Linked DNA regions of Homo sapiens: region 2 is linked to region 1. The links are contacts of gene promoters, found by promoter capture Hi-C in blood cells and fetal thymus (Javierre and others, 2016). All regions are on one chromosome and are shown on one strand. The core of a region is centred on a gene start or on the middle of the fragment in contact, and the rest is flanking DNA. Distances in the headings are between cores, read along the strand shown. Region 1 overlaps SOWAHA (sosondowah ankyrin repeat domain family member A). Region 2 holds the start of TH2LCRR (T helper type 2 locus control region associated RNA).

What was found. Contacts are between HindIII fragments. The CHiCAGO score rates a contact against its expected background, and 5 or more counts as called.
Region 2: the fragment with the promoter of TH2LCRR here is called in contact with a fragment that was not itself captured in region 1 in 2 of 17 cell types (M1 macrophages and endothelial precursors); the score reaches 5.5 in M1 macrophages.

The regions. Positions count from the first base shown.
Region 1 is chr5:132,813,785-132,819,363 of GRCh38, forward strand. SOWAHA (sosondowah ankyrin repeat domain family member A) reads left to right here. Exons shown (of 1, transcript NM_175873.6): 1 at 1-3,002. The coding sequence ends at 1,487. Among named protein-coding and RNA genes, the nearest start is that of SOWAHA, 3.3 kb to the left of the region's middle. RefSeq lists a silencer at 553-622 and enhancers at 662-1,162, 1,163-1,663. The HindIII fragment of the contact is 238 bases long and covers 3,657-3,894 here.
Region 2 is chr5:132,652,883-132,658,461 of GRCh38, forward strand. It overlaps TH2LCRR (T helper type 2 locus control region associated RNA), which reads right to left and starts at 3,272. Exons shown (of 3, transcript NR_132125.1): 1 at 3,169-3,272. IL13 (interleukin 13) reads left to right here and starts at 5,291. Exons shown (of 4, transcript NM_002188.3): 1 at 5,291-5,478. The coding sequence starts at 5,305. RefSeq lists silencers at 3,496-3,785, 3,846-3,935, 4,016-4,075. The HindIII fragment of the contact is 15,561 bases long and covers 1-3,931 here.

The DNA of each region.
Region 1 (5,579 bases), core at 2,526-5,025:
GGGACCGCTTCAAGCAGTTCGTCAACAACGTGGCGGTGGTGAAGGAGCTCGACGGCGTCAAGTTCGTGGTGCTGAGGAAGAAGCCCCGGCCCCCGGAGCCCGAGCCCGCACCCTTCGGCCCCCCGGGGGCAGCGGCCCAGCCGTCGAAACCCACTTCGACGGTCTTGCCGCGGAGCGCCTCTGCCCCGGGAGCTCCGCCCTTGGTCCGGGTGCCGCGGCCAGTGGAGCCGCCAGGGGACCTGGGTCTGCCAACAGAGCCACAGGACACCCCGGGGGGGCCGGCCTCCGAGCCCGCTCAGCCGCCCGGGGAGCGGTCCGCCGACCCACCGCTTCCAGCCCTTGAGCTAGCCCAGGCCACCGAGAGACCCTCCGCAGACGCGGCCCCACCGCCTAGGGCCCCTTCTGAGGCGGCATCGCCCTGCTCTGATCCGCCAGACGCGGAGCCCGGGCCCGGGGCAGCGAAAGGGCCGCCGCAGCAGAAGCCCTGTATGCTGCCGGTGCGCTGCGTCCCGGCCCCCGCCACGCTCCGCCTCCGGGCGGAGGAGCCCGGCCTGCGCCGGCAGCTGTCGGAGGAGCCGAGCCCGCGGAGCTCCCCTCTGCTGCTGAGGCGGCTCTCGGTGGAAGAGTCCGGTCTGGGCCTCGGCCTGGGCCCGGGCCGCTCCCCGCACCTGAGGCGCCTGTCGCGCGCCGGCCCGCGTCTGCTGAGCCCTGACGCCGAGGAGTTGCCCGCCGCGCCGCCGCCGTCCGCGGTGCCCCTGGAGCCGTCCGAGCACGAGTGGCTCGTGCGGACTGCCGGGGGCCGCTGGACCCACCAGCTGCACGGGCTGCTGCTGCGCGACCGCGGCTTGGCGGCCAAGCGCGACTTCATGTCTGGCTTCACGGCCCTGCATTGGGCCGCCAAGAGCGGCGACGGCGAGATGGCGCTGCAGCTGGTGGAGGTCGCGCGGCGCAGTGGCGCACCAGTCGACGTGAACGCACGCTCCCACGGCGGCTACACGCCGCTGCACCTGGCTGCACTGCACGGCCACGAGGACGCTGCCGTGCTGCTGGTGGTGCGTCTGGGTGCCCAGGTGCACGTGCGTGATCACAGCGGGCGTCGCGCCTACCAGTACCTGCGGCCCGGCTCCTCGTACGCGCTGCGCCGCCTTCTTGGCGATCCAGGCCTGCGAGGCACCACGGAGCCAGATGCGACCGGTGGTGGAAGTGGCAGTCTTGCTGCCAGGCGCCCCGTACAGGTGGCCGCCACCATCCTCAGTTCCACCACCAGTGCATTTCTGGGCGTCCTGGCTGACGACCTCATGCTCCAGGACCTGGCCCGAGGCTTGAAGAAGTCGAGCTCCTTCAGCAAGTTCTTGAGCGCCTCGCCCATGGCTCCACGTAAAAAGACAAAGATCCGCGGTGGTCTGCCAGCCTTCTCAGAAATCTCTCGTCGACCTACTCCGGGGCCTTTAGCTGGTCTAGTGCCCAGTTTGCCTCCAACAACCTGAAGGTCCCTGGGGCTACCACCTGGTTGATCTATCGTGGCCTGCTCGTCGCAGTCCAAACCCGCCCAAGACTGCAGCCCAATCAACGCCTGGAGCCTCATTCTGTTTCCAGCTTTGTCCAGGGCAGCCTGTTTTACCCAGATGGGCCTGCACCTCCAGCTTCTTTCTGAAGCATGACCCATCTCCAGAGATGGGATTTGAGAAATCAGTGAGAGCTTCCTATAAAGAACTCCAGGAGACAGGCCTGAACTCTAGAGGGAACTTGAAATCCAGGGTCAAAGGTTAAGGGGCAGCAGCTGGTCTGGCCCCTGAAAGCCTTCACCTGATGCCTCTGCAGCTACACAATCCCAAGACAGAGCTAGAGCAAGGGTCTCTTTAAATGTTGAAAGATGTTAGGTTGTCAGCTTTAAGATATGTGGTGGTTTTGTAATTTGATGCTTTTATTCTGTTTTTAAATTGAAATGAGGTAATGCAACTTTCGTAATAACCTTTTGGAATTATATTTTTCCACTTTTAGGCAAAGTGCTTAGACATTTTCAATTTTTTTTTTGCTAAATACTTTGGAATTCTATTTAAAAAATAGATGATCAAGATCTAAAGGAAATTAATCCCAACCAACAAACTTAAAAGTTTATCTACCTCGTTTTAGGCAATCAAGATTCTGGAGAGTCTTGAACACAGAATAACGATTGTGACCATTATGAATGTAACTAATTTCAGTTGTACTGTGAATGCTAAATATTTGCAAACAAGTACATCTTGAAAGTAAAGGTGACTTAGAGAAAAGAGACATTTTGACAGATACTTTTAATTTGTGGTTGTCTCCATCATGAAATAGAAACGTGTTTGGCACTTGTGGGTGGCTATTTTGATTTGGCATGACTACTTAATTTTTTAAAAAAATTGTGGTTTGTGAATTGCACCTTTGTGCCATGTTTCTGAATCTGGTTTTCAAATCCAGTGGAGCCTTTCAGTGAAATAGGTGACTATTAAAAAAGTAATAGTATTACAGAAAAATGAGCGATTAAATAGTAATGGATACAATTAAGGAGCAACTATTTTATATGACTGTTCTGTACAAACAAAAAGTATGTAATACCCATTTTAAAAAACCATTTGAAAGTAGACAACTTATTCCAAAATAGCAAATGCAGAATCTCTGCTCAGTGAGCTTGGATGAGTGGCTTAACTTCTCTGGGCCTTTGTTCCTATCTGTAAATGAGAAAGTTTGTAGATATTGCCAAGATTTCCCAGGCTCAATACAGTGTAATTATTTTATGTTTTAAAGATATGAAATCTGTTTACTCAACCAATTTTTTAAATGTCATATTGTGATAATGCTCTGCTTTTGCAAATTGTGTTTGCATGTCATTAGTTATATCAAATAGTTTTGTGGCATGGGGTAGTGGAGCTTCCCTCCCCACCCCCATATGTATCAGTGAAGCCTTTGAAATTACTTAAGGCAGTCTTTCATGGAATGTTTTGATTGAGCAATGAAATAAACAGTCCTCCATTTTGTTTCTGCTTGAGTGGTGATGTACTTCCCTTAAAAATTGTACAGTTTTTGCTATTGTATTTTTCTTTTCTTTTTATCTAATTTCCTTCATTCTTCTGCCTCTTTCAAGCATTCTGTTATTGAAAGAAGTTGGATTGCTCTGCAAAGTAAAGGAGTCAACCACACATGGATATCGTAATGGAGAACTGTAGATAAATGTGGGCCCTGATGTGACCTTCCCACCTTCCTTGCCTGGAACTCTGCATAAATTATTTTAAAATGCAAATTAAATCTTCTGCCTCTGCTGAAAAATTGTAGGAGACACAATTATAGCAATTGGAGTAGCTGACAGTCTAGAAAACAGAATAAAATACTAGAGATTTTCCATGGTAAAAGAGACACCTGACTCAGACAGGGCCTCAGACAAAGGTCACAGACACAGGTATGACCTGCCTTGATAAAGACAACGTTTAAACCAGCAAAGTAGTAATAACAATAACTAATGTTTATTGCACACTTAAATCAGAGGAGGGTCATTTGAACTGCCAGAAGAATCTATGTGTTTCAGAAGAGTGTGCTGCAAGCCTTCCAAGTGAAGTAAAACATTTAGCAAGAGTTTAGGATCAATATACCTAAAGCTCAGGTGTTAGAAAACACTGCTTTTCCTTGCAGGCCAAAGCTTTCTGCAACTATAAGGTAAGCCGATAAGAAATTATAGTTTCATACGCATAGGGAAAGTTTTTAAGAATCATATATCACCTAGCAGGAGGCACACCGTTAGAAGGGTATTTTCAACACTAACAGAAAATAATTGTGAAGGCAATTTAGCTGACAAGAATTGTCACAGGGACGAAATCACGCCTTTTAATGAGGGAGAATTGTTGATGTAGATGGGTATGAGTCGTATCCATAGCAAGCTTTTAAGTAAAGTTTTACATATCCTTTAATGGAGGTTGGAGGTTATTCTTAAGCATGTCTCCCTTACCTAATGGAGATCCAGGGTAATGCATATACTGTATAACCTGTGCTGATTAAGTGCCAGGCACAATTCGAAACACTTTGCAGGTATTAATCGCAAGTTTATAAGGTATGTACTATTTGTATCTTGATTTTAAAGTGAGGAAACTGAAGCCTAGAGAAGTCATAAGTTACTTGTCTAGGCCTCACAGCTAGTAAATGCAGAGCTGGAATAGTCTCCTGGTTCTCTTTTTCATGACACTGTCTGCTATCCTATTGCAGGAAGCAGGGTGGGCTCATCTCAGCCCTTTTTACTCATTTAGTGTCTTTGGGCAAGTCACCCAGCTCCCCAAACTCCATCTTCCCTGTCTACGGGACAAAAGGCTTCCTGTACCTATTTCACAGGCTGTGGGGGAAGGAAGAGCACGTAGAATGAGTGGATAGAGCTCTTTATGAACTGCAACACCAATGTGGGGTGCCGAGTTGGTTCCAGGGGGTAAATGGCTGCATCCCAAAACCAAATAGCTCTGATTTGTGGATCTGCTTTACATGATCATTCTTTCTTTTTTTTTTTTTCTTTTTTGAGATGGAGTCTCGCTCTGTCACCCAGGCTGGAGTGCAGTAGTGCAATCTCAGTTCACTGCAACCTCTGCCTCCCGGCTTCAAGCGATTCTCCTGCCTCAGCCTCCCAAGTAGCTGAGATCACGGGCACGTGCCACCATGCCTGGCTAATTTTTTGAATTTTTAGTAGAGATGGGGTTTCACCATGTTGGTCAGGCTGGTCTCAAACTCCTGATCTTAGGTGATCTGCCTGCTTTGGCCTCCCAAAGTGCTGCGATTACAGGTGTGAGCCACCGTGCCCTGCCATGATCACCATTCTTTTAACATGTTGGTGATTGTATACATAAGTAACAATCGACTCTACTAGGAAAAATGTATTCCCACAAGAGGGAAATTATCCCATATTCTGTACATGATATCACTTTAGTTAAAATAGAAATAATGTCTTTCTAAACTCACATTCCTCTAGCATTCCTACTCCTACCTTCCAGACCTAACCACTGCTATTCAGCCACCTGAGCTGGAGTGCAATGGTGGGATGTCGGCTCACTGCAACCTCCGCCTCCCTGGTTCAAGCGATTCTCGCTTGAAACGATTTCCGTGCCTCAGCTTCTCGAGCAGCTGGGATTACAGGCGTGCACCACCACGCCTGGCTAATCTTTTGTTAGAGACGGGGGTTTCACCATGTTGGCCAGGCTGGTCTCGAACTCCTGAGCTCAGAACTCCTGAGCTCAGGCAATTAGCCCGCCTCGGCCCCCCAAACTGCTGTGATTACAGGCGACAGTCAGCCTGTATTTATAGGCGCCTGGCCTATACTTAGATTCTCTTTTGCTCTCCAGATAGCCTTTTGCCTTGAACCCGCCTCACCTGTTTGGAACTGCCACACCTCCAGACTTCAACCTGGGGCCGGGGTGCCTCAGGTGTGCCTGCAGGGAAGAAAAAAGAAAGCAGAGACATCGAGATCTAGATTCTCTCCTCAAAGAAAAAAAAATCCTCCTCGTGGGAAGTGGGTGCTGATTTAAACATCAAAGACAACAGGTAAACGTCCATTGTGACCTTCCACGCTGTAGCTAGGCTGACAG
Region 2 (5,579 bases), core at 2,022-4,521, 160 kb before region 1:
TGGTGGCTCACCTGTAGTCTCAGCTACTCAGGAGGCTGAGGTGGGAGGATTGCTTGTGCCTGAGAGGCAGAGGTTGCAGTGAGCCAAGATGGTGCCACTGCACTCCAACGTAGGTGACAGAGCAAGGCTCTGTCTCAAAAAAAAAAAAAAGAAAAAGAAAAAAAGTTATTTCCCTTTTATTTTAGGAATAAGGTACTTACCCTGTACATATCCACATACTAGCATGACAGATACCAAAATATTACAATGATTATTATCTCTGGATGCTGGGACTATGGGGCTTTTTATTTTTTTGCATATCTGTACTTTACACAATAACATTTTGTGTAATCTTTTTTTAAATGCAGAATACTGACATTGGAGAATGCTCTTCATATATTTTAAGTGAAAAAGGAGTAAAAACTATATAATGTATTATCTCATTTTTCTAACAAAATGTAAATGTGCATAGCAAAGATACAGAGGTGTTATAGTGCCAGGGAAAAGGGGTGCAAGACTAGTGTTTGCCTCTTATTTCTTGTCTTGTTTATAAATTCTCTACATTAAAAATATAAATTCCAAATGAAAACAATGGAATAAACACAAACTCCCACTTTATAACCAACTAAAATGACAGTAACTGAATTTTCTAAAGTTTTAAACCCACCAAAATGGGAGAAATGGATGACAGCACCAGCGTTTGAAAGGTGGAAAGTGGAGGGACGGTGGGCAGACTACTTGGCTGACCCAAGAAAACTGAATCCTAGGCCAGCTGAGACCTATGTTGATTTACAGAATCCCAAGAATGCTCAGGAACTGGGAGAAGACCAAGGACATCAGAAGAGAAGGGGGTGAAAATAAGGAAAGTTGTTGAAACTCAGTTTAAGAAACAGTTAGATATCCATTTTTGTTCATCAAAGTCGAGTGACTCTCCTGCAGCAGGGTTTTCTCCGGATAGGATATCTGGACCAAGAAACACTAGACACAGTAGAGGGCGGTCGAAATATGCTGAAATCAGGAACAGTCAACAGATGCTGAGGCCCCCACCCCAGCCCTCTCTCCACCCTTGCTGCTGGAATGCTGGAGACAGGGAGAATCTTTTCTGCGCGAGCTGACCTGCCTGCCAAAAAAACGACAAAGAAACTGCCACAGGAGGTTCCCCAAGTGAAAACAGTCAGCCACCTGCCCTATAGGAAACAGCCCCCTCCCACACAATTACCCTCAGAGATCCCTGTTTTAACATGTGCAGGCAATCCAGGATTACCTAACGTGCAAGGAAAGCCTATAAGATGGAAAAAAAATTTTTTTTGAGGCAGGGTCTGGCTCTGTCACCCAGGCTGGAGTGAAGTGGTGTGATCACAACTCACTGCAGCTTCGACTCCTGAGCTCAAGTGATGCTCCCACACAGCCTCCCAAGTAGCTGGGATCACAGGTATGCACAACCATGCCTGGCTAAGTTTTTTTTATGTTTTGTAGAAGTAAAGTCTCCCTATGTTTCCCAGGCTGGTGTCAAACTCCTGGGCTCAAGCGATCGGCCCCCCAAAGTGCTGGAATTACAGGGGTGAGCCACCGCGCCCAGTTCAAAACAATTTTTTAAAGAAAACTTGCAGAAAATAAAGATTATGTATGAAAAAGGAAACTTAGAAGATATCAATGAAACAAGAACATAGTGCTGTTAGCGTGCATGTGCACATGCGCACACACACACAAAGAATCAAATACCCTCAGGAAGATAAAGCTATGAGAATATCCCAGAGAAGAGAAATTTTTTAAATGGAAAATAGAATAAAAAGAAAATTAAAGGACAAGTCCAAGAGGTATATAGTCAAAAAAAATGGCAGTTCCAATAAGAGAGAACAAAGAAGAAAAGTCATAAAATGTCCCAATCTAAGTGTGAATACAAAAATATATTATTTTTATAGTAAGTGAGAAAAACAGGGTGCAAAAGGTGTATATGATGCCACTTCACATGTAGGGACAAGGGAAAATAAGACCATATATTCACAGTTGCTTGTATTTACATAAACTAATAGGATACCAAAAAAAAAAAAAAACAACACCTAAGAAAAATAGTTACTTGTGAGGGAAGGTGGAGATTCCACTGAATTTTTTACATACACAGTTGACCCTTGAACAGCAGGTTCTGAACTGCACAGATCCACTTATCCACGGATTCTCTCCTGCCTCTGCCACCCCTGAGATGACAAGACCGACCCCTCCTCTTCTTCCTCCTCGGCCTGCTCAACGTGAAGACAGTGACGCTGAAGACCTTTGTGATGTTCCACCTCCACTTAATGAATAGGAAATATATTTTTTCCTCCTTCCTTGTGATTTTCTTAACAACCTTTTTTTTTTTTTTTTTTTTTTTTTAAGACGGAGTCTCACACTGTCGCCCAGGCTTAAGTGCAGTGGCGCGATTTCGGCTCACTGCAAGCTCCGCCTCCCGGGTTCACGCCATTCTCCTGCCTCAGCCTCCTGGGTAGCTGGGACTACAGGCGCCCACCACCACGCCCGGCTAATTTTTTTGTATTTTTAGTAGAGACGGGGTTTCACCGTGTTAGCCAGGATGGTCTCAATCTCCTGACCTCGTGATCCGCCCATCTCGGCCTCCCAAAGTGCTGGGATTACAGGCGTGAGCCACCGCGCCCGGCCTATAAACAACCTTTAAAAGACAGTAAGGGACACAGCAGGGCAGTAAGTGCCTCACTCACAAGAGGAGCAGCAATGCCAGAGGCCCATAGAGCACGGATTCCCAGCGCTGCCGTTTTACATAATCAGCCTTCTTGATTTTTAAAATTATCTGCATTCGTAACTTTCCTAAAAATAAAAATCTAAAAAATTAAATCCTTTCACTTACAAAAACAACTCTCTCAGGCCTTACTCCTCCTGACTGGGCATCATGTCTTTGCCAACGGAGACCCAGAGTCCAGAGAAACCCGAAAAAGCAACCCCAGCTTTCCCAGGATGAGCTGGTCGGGAGGAAGGGAGGTCCCAATCCCAGCGCTTCGGGGCCAGAGCAAAGCGAAGAGGCTCCCCATGGCCATAAGCGGGCGGCCCACGCAGCGCATTGCAGGCAGGTGCGAGCCACATGCGCCAAGTGCCCGGAGCGGCCCTTTGGTAGTTAGTGTTAATTAAAATTACCCGCACGGGAGTGGATCCCCGCTGACAATCTAGAAACAAGCAACAGACCCTCTGATGTAGCCATCTGTGCCGCGCCTCTCCGCACCGCCCGCCACGCCTTGGTCCCTGGAGACCACCCTCCAGGGCAGGGGCTGCCGCTCGGCCGGGCCCGCGGGGTCCCTCGGCCTGACATGGCCGGTGCTGGAGCGGCACGTGCGCGCCTCGGCCCCTCGGCCGCTCCCGCCCCTCGCCGGTGCGCACCGGCGCTCGGGGAGCCGCTGGCCCGGGTGTCCAGCCGGCCCTTGCCCTGCCTGGCGCTCGGACCGCCACCTTTGCCGCCCCCTCGCCAGCCTCCGCAGCTTCCAGACTGGCCGGTCTGCGCGCCCACCCCTGCCTCCCGGACCGGCCACCGCCGGAGGCCGCGGAGGAGGGCCCGGCCGCGCAGATCCCGCTTATCGGGCCCATCTCCCGTTACATAAGGCCACCCCCCTATCTCCGCGGGCCATCGCCGCCGCAACCGCCGCGCCAGCGCCTTCTCCCACGCGCGGGGGCGCCCCTGCCCACCGCTCCCGGCAGGGCTTTTGGTGGCCATGGGGGATAAGGGGCGTTGACTCACCCGGGCGGGGCTCCGGGAGTTGCACAGACCAAGGTAGTTCCCCGCTCCTTCCCCCATCACGGAGACCCTGTGGGAGATGCCGTGGGCCCTCTACTACAGATTAGGAAACAGGCCCGTAGAGGGGTCACACGGCCAAGTAGCGGCACTCCAGGCACTGGGGGCCCTCGAGGGGAAGGGGCAGACTTCTGGGAGTCAGAGCCAGCAGCTGGGCTGGGAAGCTTCGAGTGTGGACAGAGAGGGTGGGAATGACGTTCCCTGTGGGAAGAGAGGGTGGGCAAGCCTGGGATGCCTCTGAGCGGGAATCCAGCATGCCTTGTGAGGAGGGTCACAAGCACACCCTTGTGAGGAGGTTGAGCCCCATCGAGGACAGGACGGAGGGAGCCTGAGCAGGCAGAGAGGGGGCCTGGGGAGGCGCTGGTTCGGGGAGGAAGTGGGTAGGGGAGAAATCTTGACATCAACACCCAACAGGCAAATGCCGTGGCCTCTGCTGTGGGGGTTTCTGGAGGACTTCTAGGAAAACGAGGGAAGAGCAGGAAAAGGCGACATGGCTGCAGGGGCCAAGCCCAGGAGCCGCCCTCCACAGCACTCATTCTGCAGAAGGGAAATTTGAGGCCCCCAGACGGCAGGGGTTGATCCTGCAGAGACTGGTGAGCAAAGGGGATCACCCCAAGCCCCAGTGGCACTAGGAACACTTACAATCTCTGACCTGGACTAAGGCTGCCAGCCTGGCCCAGTTAAGAGTTTCCCAGAAGGATGGCCCATACACTTTAAATTAAAGGGGCCAGACACGTGCACACTACTTCCAGCCACTCTGGAAGCTGAGGTGGGGGGATCGCTTGAGTCTGGGAGTTGGAGGCCAGCCTAGGCAGGCAACATAGTGAGACCCCATCTCCAAAAAAACAAAACAAAACAAAACAAAAAAACACCAAAAAAGCTCCCAGAAAGACCTCTGAATCTTTCTGGATCTCTCAGTGGAGACCTGGAAATCTGAACTTTGACAATCCCTCTCACAGTGGGGCCAAGGAGGAATTAGGCAAGCCAAAAGAAGTGAACTTTACTCTTCTATTGCCTGTTTGAATTTTGTATCCAAGCAAGTGTTACTTAAGTAATTTAAGAGACTGGTTCATCGAAAAAATAAAACTCCCCAAATTCCCATAGCTGGTAGACTGTGGTCACAGCCACAGTGCACTAAGACTATCTGCTCAGCACTTCTGGTGACCCAAAAGGGTCTGAGGACAGGAGCTCAGAGTTGGGTCAGCTGTCCAGGTACTCAGGGTTGTCACAGGCAAAACTGCTGGAACTCAGGGCAGCATTGCAAATGCCACGCCGCTCTCAGGGCCCCTTGCCTGCCGCTGGAATTAAACCCACCCAGATCTTGGAAACTCTGCCCTGGACCCTTCTCAATAAGTCCATGAGAAATCAAACTCTTTCCTTTATGCGACACTGGATTTTCCACAAAGTAAAATCAAGATGAGTAAAGATGTGGTTTCTAGATAGTGCCTGAAAAAGCAGAGACCATGGTGTCAGGCGTCACCACTTGGGCCTATAAAAGCTGCCACAAGACGCCAAGGCCACAAGCCACCCAGCCTATGCATCCGCTCCTCAATCCTCTCCTGTTGGCACTGGGCCTCATGGCGCTTTTGTTGACCACGGTCATTGCTCTCACTTGCCTTGGCGGCTTTGCCTCCCCAGGCCCTGTGCCTCCCTCTACAGCCCTCAGGGAGCTCATTGAGGAGCTGGTCAACATCACCCAGAACCAGAAGGTGAGTGTCGGCTAGCCAGGGTCCTAGCTATGAGGGCTCCAGGGTGGGTGATTCCCAAGATGAGGTCATGAGCAGGCTGGGCCTGGTCCTAAGATGCCTGT